Regions from separate parts of the Homo sapiens genome. Here all the other regions are linked to region 1. Evidence: promoter capture Hi-C in 16 types of primary human blood cells and fetal thymus (Javierre and others, 2016). All regions are on one chromosome and are shown on one strand. The core of a region is centred on a gene start or on the middle of the fragment in contact, and the rest is flanking DNA. Distances in the headings are between cores, read along the strand shown.

Region 1 (3,609 bases), core at 753-3,252:
GTTCCGCCTGTCTTGGCCTCCTAAAGTGTTGGGATTACAGGTGTGAGCAGCTGCACCCAGTCAATATCACTTTTTAGCTAAGATTTATATATAAGTTTAAAAGTGTTTTGGCTTCCAAACTCACTAGCAATTCCCAGACTTCAAAATTGACACCACACACAGTAATTTTCTGGATTCTCAAAGCCTCATACATATAATCCTCACAAGATAGCTTTAATAGTATTAATGAGGTCAAGGCCCTTACTTTTTTTTTTTTCACCAGGGCCAATTTATTTTGCTTAGTTTCTGTCAAAGACCTCTAACCAGGCATCTTATGTGAAAGCATGCTGTACGTTCCAAAGAAGCCTGGGTTAAAATCCAGATGACTTAAGTCTATTGGAAATTATACATCAAATCCATGTCCTAGAAACAATGTCATTTTCAAATCCCAAGTACAGTGTATTCTTTGCATGCATGGTATTTTTGATAAAGTCTCTTATTTTGTGACAAAATATTGCTATATCAGCTGCCTAAAAAAGTGCAACTTAGTTTGGCAGTAATTATTTTTTTTTCTTTGTATAGTGAAAAGCGATTTCCCCAACCCTCCCATCTTGGCCCTTGTAAGAAATCCTTTTTAGGAATCTATCCTGGGCTTCCTGCTGGACTTCAGCCTCATTTTTTTCTCCAATGCCTGAGTACTGGACCAATATTTGGTAAGAATTTGGCTCTGGGGAGTGCTATGTTGAATGACAAATGGTTGAGGACGAAGATTTTATTGAAGCATTTGAACCACACTTAATTTTCCGTGTTGCTTTATTTGTTCCTTTTACCACCCAGGATATTGAATTCTGTGGGCTCTGGTTGAGTCGTTGGTACTTCAGGCGTTCAGTAATAAGAAACATAATCTGCTTTTTCCGGCAGGATAATAAATCTCATTTATATTAAGGGAGGCTTACTCCAAACTCTTTTACATAGTATTTTTCTAAATCTTCTGCATGAACAAATTCTTCCTTGAGCCCTAGCACTGGGGACCCGGTCTGGCAACCTGCGCCCCATTCCGCGGGAATCAAGCGTGACCCGGTGCGGCCTTGCGCGCTGCCGCCAGCCAGACCCTCCCTCCGGCTTTCCCACCCACCGCCCGGGATCCAGCCTCCATCCCGCTGCCTCAGCTGTCCAAGACAGCGACACCCCCCTCTCCGCTCCCGCGGCTCCCCCGGCGCAGCTCGCCGCGCCAGACAGCGGGTAACCGCCGCCTCCGCTGGGGCATCCCGGCTCCACAGGCCCAGCGCGCTCCAGACACCTGCCTCTCACTGGCCACCGCCGCTGCCCCTCACCCCGCAGCCCTCTCGGCAATTGGCCCCAGGCCGCCGCTCGTCATCCTCAGCCTTCTCCTAGAGTACCGCCTCCGTCGCCGGGTCATTTAAGTTTATCACAAATAAATAAATAAAGGAGGAAATAGAAATGCGTAGAAAGTAAAAGCAGTAGGGGGTGGGGGAGATGGGGCGTGGAGGAAAAGGAGGGAGGAGCGGAGGAGTAAGCAACCTAACCTGATTGCGCCTGTGTCGACCAATCATGGCTCACTCCAGTCCGGTCTGACGGGCTCCCTGAACCAATAGCCTTCCACCTCCCGGATCACTGAACAACGAGATACGATTGACCTTTTCAGAAAGGGTGAAGGTGCGGCGGGGGGAGGGGGTTGTGGGGGTGGGCGAAGTGGAAGGATTGTCCACCAATCGCCTGTTAATACTTCTCTGAGCGAAGTTTCCGCGTCCCAATGGATGTTTGAGATAGCGGATTGGGCCTCTTTTAGCCCAATCGAAGGTGACAGAGATGAGGGAAGAGGAAGAAAGGGGCGGGGACGGGGGGGCGGAGGGGAGAAGGAAGAGTGCATTTTGTTTATGGGCGGCAACCTCACGAGGGGCGTCCCATTCTCATTGGCTCACTGAAGCCAAGATTGGCGTGAGAGCTATCCTATAGCGGGGAGAGATAGAGGGTTCGCGGAGTGAAGCGTCCAATGTGGGCCTTCTGCCGAAGAAGTAGGGGCGGGGGGAAGTTTAGGAGTTGAGGAAAGAAGATTAAAGAGCGCGAGGAGGTAATGCCACAAACTCTAATTTGTTGTGGGACGGGCGGGAGAGAGGGAGGAGTGTGTGCGTGCCGAGGGGGATGAGGCGTCTGCGAGGCGCCTGGAGTGGGGGGCGGCGGGACTGGGAAGGAGGGGAGCGGGGTGGGGTTGGGGGAGCGAGTTACAGAGCGGCGAGCCAGCGGGCCCTGAGCTGGATGAGCGCGCGCGCCCCCGCGCCCCGCCCCGCCCCGCCCCGCCCGCGCCCCCTCCCCCGGCGCCCTTCTTAGCGCCCGGCGGCTGCCTCGCCCGACCCGGCGGGGAGGTGGGAGGGAGGCGCGGGAGGGTCGAAGGGTGGCGGGGCGGGCGGGACGTCCCGCAGCTGGAAACGTGTCTTCTGCCTTCTTCTCTCTACTCCCTGCGCCTGGAGCCGCTGCTTCCAAGAAGAGGAGCTGAGGGGGACTAGCCGGGGCTCAGGAGCTGCTAGAGGCGCCCGCTTGTCTTCTGCCCCCTCCCTCCTCGCCCTCCCCCGCTTGCCGTGGCTCTCGCGGTCTCTGGAGCGTCTTCAGAGAACTGGGGGGCAGGAGGTGTCCTGGCCCCACAGCCGCTGGATGTCTCTCCAGACGCCGGAGCTCCCGGCCCCCGCCTGCTTCGCTTCTACGACTAGAGAGGAGGGGGCTTGGGAAGGGAAGACACACCTTTCCTTCTTTCTCTTCTTTGGGCCACTTCGGAAACATTAAAACATGTTAACACTTTTTGATTCCTGATATAAAAATGGTTGGAAGGTTCTTGAAAGTTTAAAACAAATGCCGTCTCTCGTACACTGTTTAATGTATTCCTGTCTGTGTGGCTTTTGGGTCCTCCCCCCACCCCCCGCCCCCAGCTGTTATCCTTTTTAAGGATGCTGAAGAGGCAGGAGGCAGGGATTTTCTAAAAGTTCTATTGATAAACACACTTGCACAAACATATGCTAGGCACACACACAAACTAAACATTAGCGAAAAACACAATATGGCGTACAGCTACGGTACCTAGCGCGGTAATCCGCTGATCTCTCACTCCGAACTGGGTTGAATGAGGTCAGTAGCAGGATGACAGCTCTCCAATGAAAATCTGAATGAATCAGGAAGTAGTTTGGAAGCTTGCGGGTGTAGTACTGTCCTCAGAATCAGCATTGGCCAAACCTAAGTTGAACATGTTACCTTTCTAGACATGTGAAAATCTTCTCCACTGTTTTTTCTATTAAAAATACCAAAAGGGTGCTAAAGTCAAGTTTCCTCACTGCGTGGCGGTGTATACATTTCAGCTAAAAAAATTATAGAGGCCATTCACCCAATGTTTTCAAGTGAACGCTATTCTGAAGTTACTGTTGTAACTTGTTGCCATTGAAAGTTTTAAAACACAATTACCATTTTATAAATAAATAGCTGTAGACACTAAATTTAAGTGATAACCAGTCATCTTTAAATTTATAATGGTTTGTTTTCATTTCTGTTCATGCTCCCAATCCCAAGTACCCTTTGCTATTTTGTGGAAATATTTATATAGATCCCCCTCCACTCCCGGTCACA
Region 2 (3,609 bases), core at 385-2,884, 620 kb before region 1:
TGCGATTACATCACTGAAATAACTTGAAAATCAGGATTTGGTAAAGAGTGTAGATGCAAAGGTGTAGACGCAAGGCCCTGGCCAAAAGAGGGATGGAGACAAGAGGTTTAGTTCAATGCCCCCTCTTAATTCGTTGAGTTGATTTGTTCCTAAGTGTAAACAAGAGAGGATGTTTTTCTTTCTTTTAAAATAAAACAGAAGGTTGCTCTGGTTCTTCTCATTTGTCTAAAAATCCAGTAGATCAGAAGTTAATTCCTGAAATTCTCCTGTTGCTTTCAGGTTGCAGAATTGCTGGAATTTGCTTTATCCATGAGAGAGGGGTGATTATGGAAGTGTGGATAAAAACGTGGCATTTGAAGTGAATGCTAAAGGATGTGAGCAGATGAAAGTAGAGGGCCTTTCTGACAGATGGTGTGAGAAATGGCAAGATGTACTTCAGGTCTGGCAAAAGGCTGATCTGGCTGTCTCGAAGGGATATTTTTTAGCCAGGGACTGTTTGGTTGCAAGATATAGAAATTCACCTAAACTACCATAAGTTAACGGGAATTTATTCTAAGAACTAGAACCCATGAGAAAAAAGGGCAGGAACAGCAGCTAAGCTTCATTATTGTATAGAATGGAAAGCAGGAATGCCTTCAAGAGCAAAGCCATCTACTTTCCATCTCTTGTCTCTCTTTCCAAGCATCTAATTTTTACCCTTTTCTGGATTTTGGCCCCATTTACCTGCTTCTATCTGCAGAGTGCTCCTTTCTTTGAGGTCTCAGCATACAAATAGCTGCTGCAAAATGACAGTCATACAATTTTATCTATAGTGTCATCCAGGCCCAGTAACATTAGGTAATCGACTGGGCTGAGTTGCTGAGTCTTAAATCCAAATTCCTTAGGAAGATAATCTGATTAATCCAGCTGGGTCAGGTGTCTATCCCTGCCAATCAGCTGTGTTCAGATAGATGGGGCCAGCTACTCAGGGAGATGTGGCATAGTGGACTCAGGAGATCTAACCAAAGGAAGTATATGTGTAGATGGGAAATGATGGACAAAATGAAGATTTATAAAAGGTGATTTAGGCCTTTTTATTGAGGGCTTTAAATGCTAGGCAGAAGGGCTTTAATTTTTAAATAGTAAATAATTGAATCCATTCATTTAAGCCAATAATTCAAACCATTTAGGCAAAAGAGAGTTAAACAAAGCATTGCTATTATAAGATTGCTTTAGCAGCAGGAGAATTTGAAGAAGGGAATGACTGAAGACACAAAGATCAGGATAAAAACTGCAATGACCATAGTTCAGTATAATAAAATTTTAAACTGGGTGATGGTAGTAAGAATAGAAAACAGAGAGAAGGATTTGGGAGTCATCCCACTGATAACATTGGCTACACCCTGGTTGTAGGAATCAAGATAATGCATGTGAATGCATGTTAAAACCAAAAAAGAACTATATAAATGTACCAATAAATGTGTCTGAAAGGATAAGCATGACGATATTTTAATGCCAGACATGGATTTGAAGAAAATCCATGTGATAAAGTCTGACAAACTATTGGGAAAGCAGGTCCCAAGGTTAGGAGAGAGTAGAGGCTAGGAGAGAGTAGAGGCTAAAGATAGGACACTGGACAACCCTCTAGGACTTGAATTTCAATTATAATAAAAGGGAATGTGGGAGAATTTTCTTTAAAAAAGTTGATATAGAACATAAGAATGCCTAAGGGGGATAAAATTATTTTCACCTATTTATAAAATAATTATAATAACAAGACTCCTTCCTTTCACTTTCTCCTTCAAAAGAGTTTTATCTTTTCTGGACTGATCATGTGAATCCAGCTATGGTTATGAAACAAAAATCGATCTTGCTGGTCTTAAAGTGATGTCTCCTCCTCCCTGCTAAAGAAGGAATGGGCATGACCTCACATAGCTGCCTTTCGTGGTCTTTTGATAAATTTTTGATTGTGTAATTTCCCTATTGCCGGATGATTATGCATGGCAGGCTGATTCAGAGGCCATTGTCTGTTTTGAAATGAACCCCTAGAATGCACTAATGGGATTTTGTGCCATTAATGCTGAATAGAGTGGGATGAGAAATCACTTTTCTGATCTGCCTGCTCCTTAGTCTCAGTGCTCAATGACAGTACAAGTAACTACTGTGAGAAAAAGGATTCACCAAGATGTTGGCCCCGTCTATCCTCCCCCTAAATCCCTACAGTGAATTAACAGGGTCTTACCTTTCCCATCTTTTTATCTCTTCCGGTTAACGTGAACATATCAAGTCATGAGCTCTAATTTTCAGGGTGGGTGAGTCATCTGTCACCCTCTCTATAGCCCACTTCATCCAGAATAAAAAGCATTGTGCTATGGGGACATTTTATACCAGGGAAAATCAGCTTTGTAGATCAGGCCCTTTGCCAAATTTCTTTTCAAAGGCTTTCCTTTGCAGATTTTCCTTTTCTGGTCCTTCTAACTTTGAAGCATCTGACTGTTTTTGTGCCCTGTGTGAAGGAGTCAAGATGAGCTGAGTCATAGCTGAGCTGTTTATACTTCTTTTATCTTACTACCATGTAAATCACTCTTCAATTGTATTCTGCAAGAACAAACCCTGAGAAAGGTTGGAAGCTCTGAGCTGGATTTGTGTGCCTCCTTCCCTGCAGGACAGCTTTTCAGTTATAAGCTTAGAACTTGGAGTTAAACCTGTTGTTCCCTCTCTGCTTGCTAGAGTCTAAGAGCACGTTTGCATTCAGTGTGTCCACAATAAAAGTTGTCTTAGTCCTTTACATGGTTTTCCATATCTAGAGGATGGTAAAACAGAGGTAATACATTTTGTGCCTATAGGAAATGGAATTTAACAATATGCACCTACACAGAATGAAAATGAAAACCTGACCCAGAAGTAATACTCTCATAAAATATAAAACTAAATCTATTTGCTGACAAGCACCACCTGGTGTGGGTATTTCCTTCCCAAGAGCTAAGGCACTCTGCGGCCTTGGGAGTTTCCTCTGATCTTCATCAGGAACGTGCATCCTTCCACATGCTTTTCACTTCTGGACGGCTCTGGGTCTCTAAAAGGCAGGGTGAACAGAAACATGCCACCTCACTCAAGACATGCCCCTGTAGAACAATCTGTGGGAAGCATAGAAGGCATATGAATACCTGATAATTGGGATGATTCTGGGAGCATTAGGAAGATTTCATGGCAGCGATGCACAAGCTGTGAATGCTTTGATAAACATTTCCCTCTTGGAGAGTGTGTAGGCAGTCAGATGAGTATTTTCATGACACGAATAAATATGTGAGTGCCGTGGCATTCGCCCCCACTCCACCACACTACCTTCAACATTGTTATGAGAAAAGGGGAGGGGGGAACATGTGTCTGTGTAAGTATATGCATGTATATGTAAGTGCACGCACACACACATACACACACACTTCCACATAAATATAAATACATACTTGTGCTTAGAAAGAAATGAAAGAAGAAAAGACTCTTATATCCTAAAGTACGGGCTTTAAAATATATGTTTGAAATGATGAGTTCTGGACTCTACCTGCAAGCAGAGTAGACTAGCCCACTGAATATCTCTCTGTAGATTTGAATAGGTCTGTTTTGCTGATA
Region 3 (3,609 bases), core at 662-3,161, 540 kb before region 1:
TTTGCTGTTGGACCAAGACTGAAAACTTCCGACCACTTCAAGGTCCAACATACCCTACCTTCTCCTCACTGGCACAAACTACTAAGGCCGGTATCCTCACCAATGCTTCATCATAATGCTCATTTCTTTTCTTCAGACCCTACCCACTATCGTGGTCTCTGAATTCCTTTGCCACAACTACAGACTGCAGTTTGCAAGCAGTCACAGACTTATTTTGTTCTATACTGGTACTGAGTCTTTTTTGTTTCTGTTTTCTTTTAAGAGCCTTACTTTTCTCCCCATCCAGACTGTAACTTCCATGACAACAGATATTCACTTTTATAATCTACATCCCTCACAATGCCTGTGTAGTGTGGAAATTATACGTATTAATAAGTACAAATTAATTGAATGACAGTAGAATACAGTCCTTGCGATATCTGGGTTTATCTCCTCTATTCTGATGCTAACTCATTGTGGGACCATGGCCAGACCATGCAACTGAATCCCAGAACATGCTTCATCGTTCATTAAAACACAGGCACACACAACTTCTCCTGGAGATTGTTCAAGCATAGTGCATCATAATATTTTTGTGCAGTGGTCCCAGTAGAGTATCTGATGAAAGACAAGGTCATTTTGCCAAGAATATCATCCGTATGCACACACAGTATAACATGTTGCAAATAATCTTAGGAGATGAAAGAACCCTCCTGAAGCCCATCCAGTTCCCAGGCTTAGGCAATTTTTAAGTTTCCTTTTAGGTCTAAGACTGTAGGATTGAAATACAAGATGTGACAAGTTATAGCTGGTATCTACCTGGAAAGAGTGTGTTAGCTATTTCCCTTAAGGTATCCCAACCTTTTCTATTGAATCCCTAGATTGCAGTTTCTGAGGGACAAATTACATGAAGCCCAAATTAACCCTAACATCACTACCTGGTAACCTTGGCTGACTTCCAGGCTCAATCATTACTGATAATGTAAGGACTTGGTAATGTTGCTGAGCTACAAGGTAGGCCAAATAGAATAGACTCTGACTCCCAAAAGAGACTGCAAATCATTATGTGTCTCTCTTGCTGGCCATAAATCATGTCCTATTTGCACGTTAATTTCCTTCATAAAATCAGGTGTAGTACCAAAGAAAAAGAAAGTTCCCCAATAGCTTCAGCTGAAAGGAACAGGAACAATGGTGACTTTCTATTAGGCACTTACTGTGTGTTCAATAAAATACCATAATAGACACCTTTTACACATGATCTATTTAATACCGACAACCACCAAGTTCAGCAATGAGGATATTTTATTTCACAATGACAAAGCTGACGCTGAATTAATGGCATAGAGCTGGTTAGGGACTGGACCTTTGATTCAAACATAGATAGGTCCGATTCCAAGATCGCTCTGATATTTCTCCTCCACTGCAGGCCTCCAAGCAAGAGATTTGGCTAAATTCATGTTTGTTGCAATTCTGTCTATTGTTGCAGTATCCACTGAATAATATATTTGTCTTTTGTATTACTTCGAATACAAAATAGTACTCTGAAATACTTTACTTTGGGTCACCAAGAAACCATTGTTCTCTTTATTTGCTGGATGAAGTAATTTCTTCCACTATTTTACCTGTAGGAAGATGACAGATTATCCATGCTTTTACCATCTTCAATTTTAAGATTTGCCCAGAGGGGGCCAGGCGCAGTGGCTCATGCCTGTAATCCCAGGATTTTGGGAGGCCGAGGCGGGTGGATCATGAGGTCAGGAGATTGAGACCATCCTAGCTAACATGGTGAAACCCCATCTCTACTAAAAATACAAAAAGTTAGCCGGGCATGGTGGCGGGTGCCTGTAGTCCCAGCTACTCAGGAGGCTGAGGCAGGAGAATGGCGTGAACCTGGGAGACGGAGCTTGCAGTGAGCTGAGATTGCACCACTGCACTCCAGCCTGGGCGACAGAGGGAGACTCCGTCTCAAAAAAAAAAAAAAAAGAAAGAAAGAAAAAAAAAAAAAAGATTTGCCCAGAGGATCTTCATATGGGGAGAGGAGAGTATGAGGATCAAAAGTGATTATTTCAGATTATCAGAAGAAAACTTAGGCAAAATGATAATAATTGAGGACCTACTCTATACCTGGTTCTTTAAATATGTTACCTCATTAAATCCTCATCACAACTGTTTAAGGGTAACATTTTAATCTCTATCTTATAGATGAAGACACTGAAGGTTATACAAATCATTAAAACCATGCAGTGAGGAACCTGAGGTTGAACCCAGGACTGTCCAGTTCCAAGACTGTCTCTTTATGAGGTGTTCAAAGTAAAAAAATGTTTCTGAAACATGCCTTGTAATCTGAAACTTCTTATGGAAATAGGCCTACATTTAAAATTGTGAGATTATGAAACTCAATCCTTTTCTTTTCCTGTCTGGAAGCAAGCAGAGACAATGTCTCTTGGTTTGTTGAGGCAGCGCTGGCTGGGGACTGATGCTGCAGAAGGGCTCAGACAATGGTGGGCAGGGGGTGGCGGGGGGGTCTCTCCTAGGGGAGCTGTGCCCCATCTGCCACTTAGATCTGCTCAAAGACAGAAAATCCATTTGTCAAGGAACCCTTTAGGGCCTGCTGTTTGTGAAGCCAAGAACAGAGAGCGCTAGTGCTGGAAGATCCCATAAAACCATCTTTTACCAGCAAGGAAGGTAAATTGGCCTTGGCCATGGCCAGAGAGCTTGTCAGAAACAGAGCTACAAGAAAACCACGGCTGTCTCTTGGTACTCAGCTCAGTCAGTGCCTTCCCCTGCTCTTCAGCGCCCCTCCAGCCCTGCTTCTCCCACACCTCTTGCTTTCTCGCCTATTATTCCTTCTTTCTCTTTTCTACCATCTATTCTTTCTCCACTTTGCCCTTGCTTATTCTTTCTGCCTCCCCTGATCGATTTCTGGTCCTCTTCTGCTTTTTTTCCTCCCACTTTTTTCTCCATTTTCTACCCCATTATTCTTCCCTCCTACTCTCCCTTTTCTCTATAGGAAGTAAAGAATCTCTATCCACATCCCCACCTTGTTCCTCCTAAGGGCCCACCTTCCTTTTTCACATTCTGACCAATTTTCCTTCTCAATCAAATATCCTCATTCAGACTCAGAGTGTCTGGGTGCCTAGGAAATATTTAGAAATGGGTCATGGAAAAGAAGTTGCTGATGTATAAAATTCCAAAGAACTGGGCTGCAAGCAATAAAGATGGACACTTGCCTGAAAAACTCTTAGCTTTTCTTGTGGGGCTTCAAATTTAAAAAATTAAATGGTTCTTTCCCTTTCAAGCTGTTTATGAAAAGAAATCTCTCCATAGGTGCAATCCATATTATTGGCCAGTCAGAGGATGTCTATTGAGAGCCTTCTATGTGCTGTGCTCTATTCTGAGCACTGGGGCTACCATGCAGCCTTCAAGAAATGAAAAGTCTACTGAGAGGGAGAGAAACTGAGGACGACACAGATAAACACAGTCGTTTTAGGCACTAAGAATGCTACGGAGAAAATAAACTGGGTAATGTGATGTAACTGTTGGCATTGGTAGGGGTAGTGCAGTGCTGTTCTGCCCAAATGGTCAGGGAAGACTTGTCTGAGTAAGGGACATTCAAATGGAGACCTGAGT
Region 4 (3,609 bases), core at 528-3,027, 520 kb before region 1:
GAAAAAAAGTCAGCCTTTGAGAAGTACCTTGTCTATTTTACTTAGAGCTGAATGCCAGTTTCTAGAATGGTGCCTGGCACAAAGTAGATGCTCAATTAATATTTATTGGATGAATCCAAAATCTGAGCATCTCCATTAGTGCTATTTCAGAAAGATGATGACAGGTGAAGAAATCTGGATTCGATTTTGTCAATTTTTGTTAAAATCCTTCACTTCTCAGTGGTGGAATTCAAGAGCATCTAACTACAACAGGTATATGATTCCCCAATTATAGAAATTAGTAAGCAGAGGTTTAACAAGAAAAGAAATAGCAAAGCTATAGAAACGCCATTGATCATAATAATAAACAAGCACTTGAAAATAATAATACATCTAAGATAAAGACAACTGATTTATATTTATCTATTGACTCGTTAGAGTCATATCAATAAAATTATTTTTCTGTGTGTGTGTGTGTGTGTGTGTACTTTTTCTTTCTTTTTTTTTTTTTAGACAGGGTCACTCTCTGTCACCCAGGCTGGAGCGCAGTGGCACTATCTCAGATGACTGCTGCAGCCTTGACCTCCCAAGCTCAAGCAATCCTTCCACTTCAGTCTCTCAAATAGCTGGGGCTACAGCTATGTGCCACCATGCCCAGCTAATTTTTATATTTTTTGTAGAGATGGACAACATTTCACCATATTACCCAGGCTGGTCTCAAACTCCTGGACTCAAGCCATCTTCCTGCCTCGGCCTCCCAAAGTGCTGGGATTACAGTGTGAGGCACTGCTCCCTGCTTATATGCGTTTTCACTAGCAAAACTGGTGAAAGTGGCTGGGTGCTGTGGCTCATGCCTGTAATCTCAGCACTTTGTGAGGCTGAGGTGGGCAGATCACCTGAGGTCAGGAGTTTGAGACCAGCCTGACCAACATAGAGAAACTCTGTCTCTACTAAAAATACAAAATTAGCCAGGTGTGGTGGCACATGCCTGTAATCCCAGCTACTTGGGAGGCTGAGGCAGGAGAATTGCTTGAACCCAGGAGGCGGAGGTTGCGATGAGCTGAGATCACACCATTGCACTCCAGCCTGGGCAACAAGAGCGAAACTCCGTCTCAAATAAATAAATAAAAGTGGTGAAAATATTCATGGGAGATTGCTGGAGAATCTCTGCTCCCTACTATTTATATTTAATCTGTGTATTGCTCTCCAAAGCTTAAGGGGAGTAGGCTGGGAATAACTAGTCCCTTAGTTATTCAAGGAAGGAAGTCTCCTTCCCTAAACAGGGGTTGGAAGAGCCCAGTGTTGCGATGAGGCACGTTAATCATGCTGGTCATGTACCAAGGCACAAGCCAGACAGAATCACTTGACTAAACTCCTCTAGAAAACTTTTGGATATAGCAGACATAGGTATAAGTTACCTAACTGAATCAAGGGTCAAAATCACTGAGACTCAGGAAAATACCTATGGGAAGTCAGCCCTGGGAGGAAGCATCTCTACTCTTGAGCAATGGGAGCAAACCCTCTGATGAACACTGCCCATTACAGAAGCACATGTTGATTCCCTCAAGAAATGACATGCTCAAAGGACAGAAGGGCTGGCAAAGTGAGGGGGACACTAGACTCTGCTCTCAGAGAGGTTGCTATGCCTTTAGCAGCCACTGTGAGCTAGGAACAAAAGGGTGGAACTCCCCATCACTCAGCTAAAAAGGCTATCACAGACCAGTCCATGAGAGGGACTGTGAGGCCTCTTCTGCTAGCAACTGAAGACAGAAGAAGAGCTGCAGGAAGCCAATGCATCAAGAAAAAGACAGAAAAGCAGTTTACCAGCAGACAAACCCCTGTACTACCACCAGAGGCAAATCTTTCCCAGCTGAGAGGCCCCAAGAGCAAAGCACATGCCAAGCTCCTGAAGATGGTCAGAGCTCACCAGCAGGAAGAGGGCCCCAGAGCCCAGGGAACTTAGCATAAAACAATCTTCCTTCCAGGTAAGACACTGCGAAGTGTCTTTTGTTGGATACTCAAAAATGTGAGATGCAATAAGATAAGTATTTTCTTAAATTACTACAGTCTTCCTACTATAACAAATAATGATTGTTCATCTATTTTTTCTTAATTAAACCCCCTTCATAAGTTACAGTCTGAGTCAGCAGGTACTTGAGACATTTTGTTCAATGAATAAATGAGTCAGAGACTTTTCTCACCCACTCTACCACACACCCTTCTTCAAATGTTGTCACTCTTGGTCCACTTCTCTGTCTTTCCCCTCTTAGTTCTTATGATCATCTGCTGTATGTTTTTATTTTATTACTAACTGAACTTCGCTTGGGCTATAAACAATCTGAGAACAGAACTTTATCTGTTTTTTTACAATCTTCTAAGCTTCAGTGGCTAAAATAGTGCTGGCACATAGTTGATACTAAAAAAAAATGTTATTTTTAGTTGTTGCATGACCACATGCCATACTGTGTTGGTGCTCAGAGAGTGTGTAAACTCTCTGTGTGTGAACACTCAGCTCACTGGCTGGGTGTTCTCGCTCCAGGTCACTAATGCTGGAGCCTTCATCACGCCACTCTCCAGCAGTCATTTTCCTCTCTCTTCTTACATTTATAAGTGCACAGTATATATATTTAGTATTTCAATTCAATCCTCATCATGATCATGTGAGGAACACATCACTGTGCCTGTTTTATAATCAACACAGATGAGGAACCAGGAAGGAGTCCAGCGTCATCCAGCTTCTGAATGACAAAGCCCTTGCTTAGTCCTCCTCCTGTAAAAGTCAATATTCCCTGGTGCTTAAGAGCATGGGCTGCGGAGTTAGACATGTGTAAGTTTGAATTCCAGCTCTGCCAGTTACTTGGTAGATCCTGACCTTGGGCAAGTCAGCTTTAGGCTCCTCATCTGCAGGATGAGGGAATAAAAAAACTATCCCATTGGGCTGATATGAGAATCAAATGAGTTAATGCACATAAAGCACCCAGCACAGTCCCTGACACTTTGTACATACTCAGAAAGGGGTGGCTGCTACCATTATTCTCATCATAATTATTGCCATCACCATTATTCTCTCAGAGTAATTTCTAGAGCATCGTGACATTAAGTTAAGGCATGTTGATAAGACAAATACCAGAGGAGATTTGGTCATGAGACTGTATTCATCCTGATGATTGTAGGTATCATCACTCAGAGGGTGGAAAAGCTATTTCTTAACTCGACAGTACTACTGAGCTATATCTATTCTCAAAGAAAGAGATAAGCAGGAAACCATGTAAAATGTGCCATAGTACTCAACTCTGTTCTTTCTTATCTTGGGAAGGGGGAAGATCTGTTTACATTGTCAAAGTTAAACCACAGTCCCACTCTACTATCACCTGACACACACCAACTGATTCCTTCTCAGTCTTCTCTAACTTACCCACCCCCCAAAACTTCACCTAGTGTAGGAGCTTAGTGATAGAAATTCACTGAAACTAGAAATCTATTCATTCCCAAAATATGTGACCTTCACCTGACATCCCCCAACCACACACACACACACACACACACACACACACACACACACACACTCATTTAGCCACTATTTCATATACAGTATCTATCCCATTGATCCAACTATATCCCTCACACATC

Evidence for each region. Contacts are between HindIII fragments. The CHiCAGO score rates a contact against its expected background, and 5 or more counts as called.
Region 2: a fragment that was not itself captured here is called in contact with the fragment with the promoter of ZBTB20 in region 1 in 4 of 17 cell types (fetal thymus, naive CD8 T cells, endothelial precursors and 1 more); the score reaches 7.2 in fetal thymus.
Region 3: a contact is called between a fragment that was not itself captured here and the fragment with the promoter of ZBTB20 in region 1, in 6 of 17 cell types (M1 macrophages, naive B cells, M2 macrophages and 3 more). The highest score is 7.0, in M1 macrophages.
Region 4: a contact is called between a fragment that was not itself captured here and the fragment with the promoter of ZBTB20 in region 1, in 4 of 17 cell types (total B cells, M1 macrophages, fetal thymus and 1 more). The highest score is 8.3, in total B cells.

The regions. Positions count from the first base shown.
Region 1 is chr3:115,145,681-115,149,289 of GRCh38, reverse strand. ZBTB20 (zinc finger and BTB domain containing 20) reads left to right here and starts at 2,002. Exons shown (of 12, transcript NM_001348800.3): 1 at 2,002-2,071. RefSeq lists silencers at 1,007-1,226, 1,787-1,956, 2,267-2,536 and enhancers at 1,277-1,486, 3,217-3,326. The HindIII fragment of the contact is 9,545 bases long and covers 1-3,181 here.
Region 2 is chr3:115,765,686-115,769,294 of GRCh38, reverse strand. No RefSeq gene overlaps it. Among named protein-coding and RNA genes, the nearest start is that of SNORD155, 140 kb to the left of the region's middle. The HindIII fragment of the contact is 2,065 bases long and covers 602-2,666 here.
Region 3 is chr3:115,689,111-115,692,719 of GRCh38, reverse strand. The region is part of intron 2 of GAP43 (growth associated protein 43); the gene reads right to left. Among named protein-coding and RNA genes, the nearest start is that of GAP43, 67 kb to the right of the region's middle. The HindIII fragment of the contact is 7,513 bases long and covers 1-3,609 here.
Region 4 is chr3:115,665,926-115,669,534 of GRCh38, reverse strand. The region is part of intron 1 of GAP43 (growth associated protein 43); the gene reads right to left. Among named protein-coding and RNA genes, the nearest start is that of GAP43, 44 kb to the right of the region's middle. The HindIII fragment of the contact is 1,167 bases long and covers 1,194-2,360 here.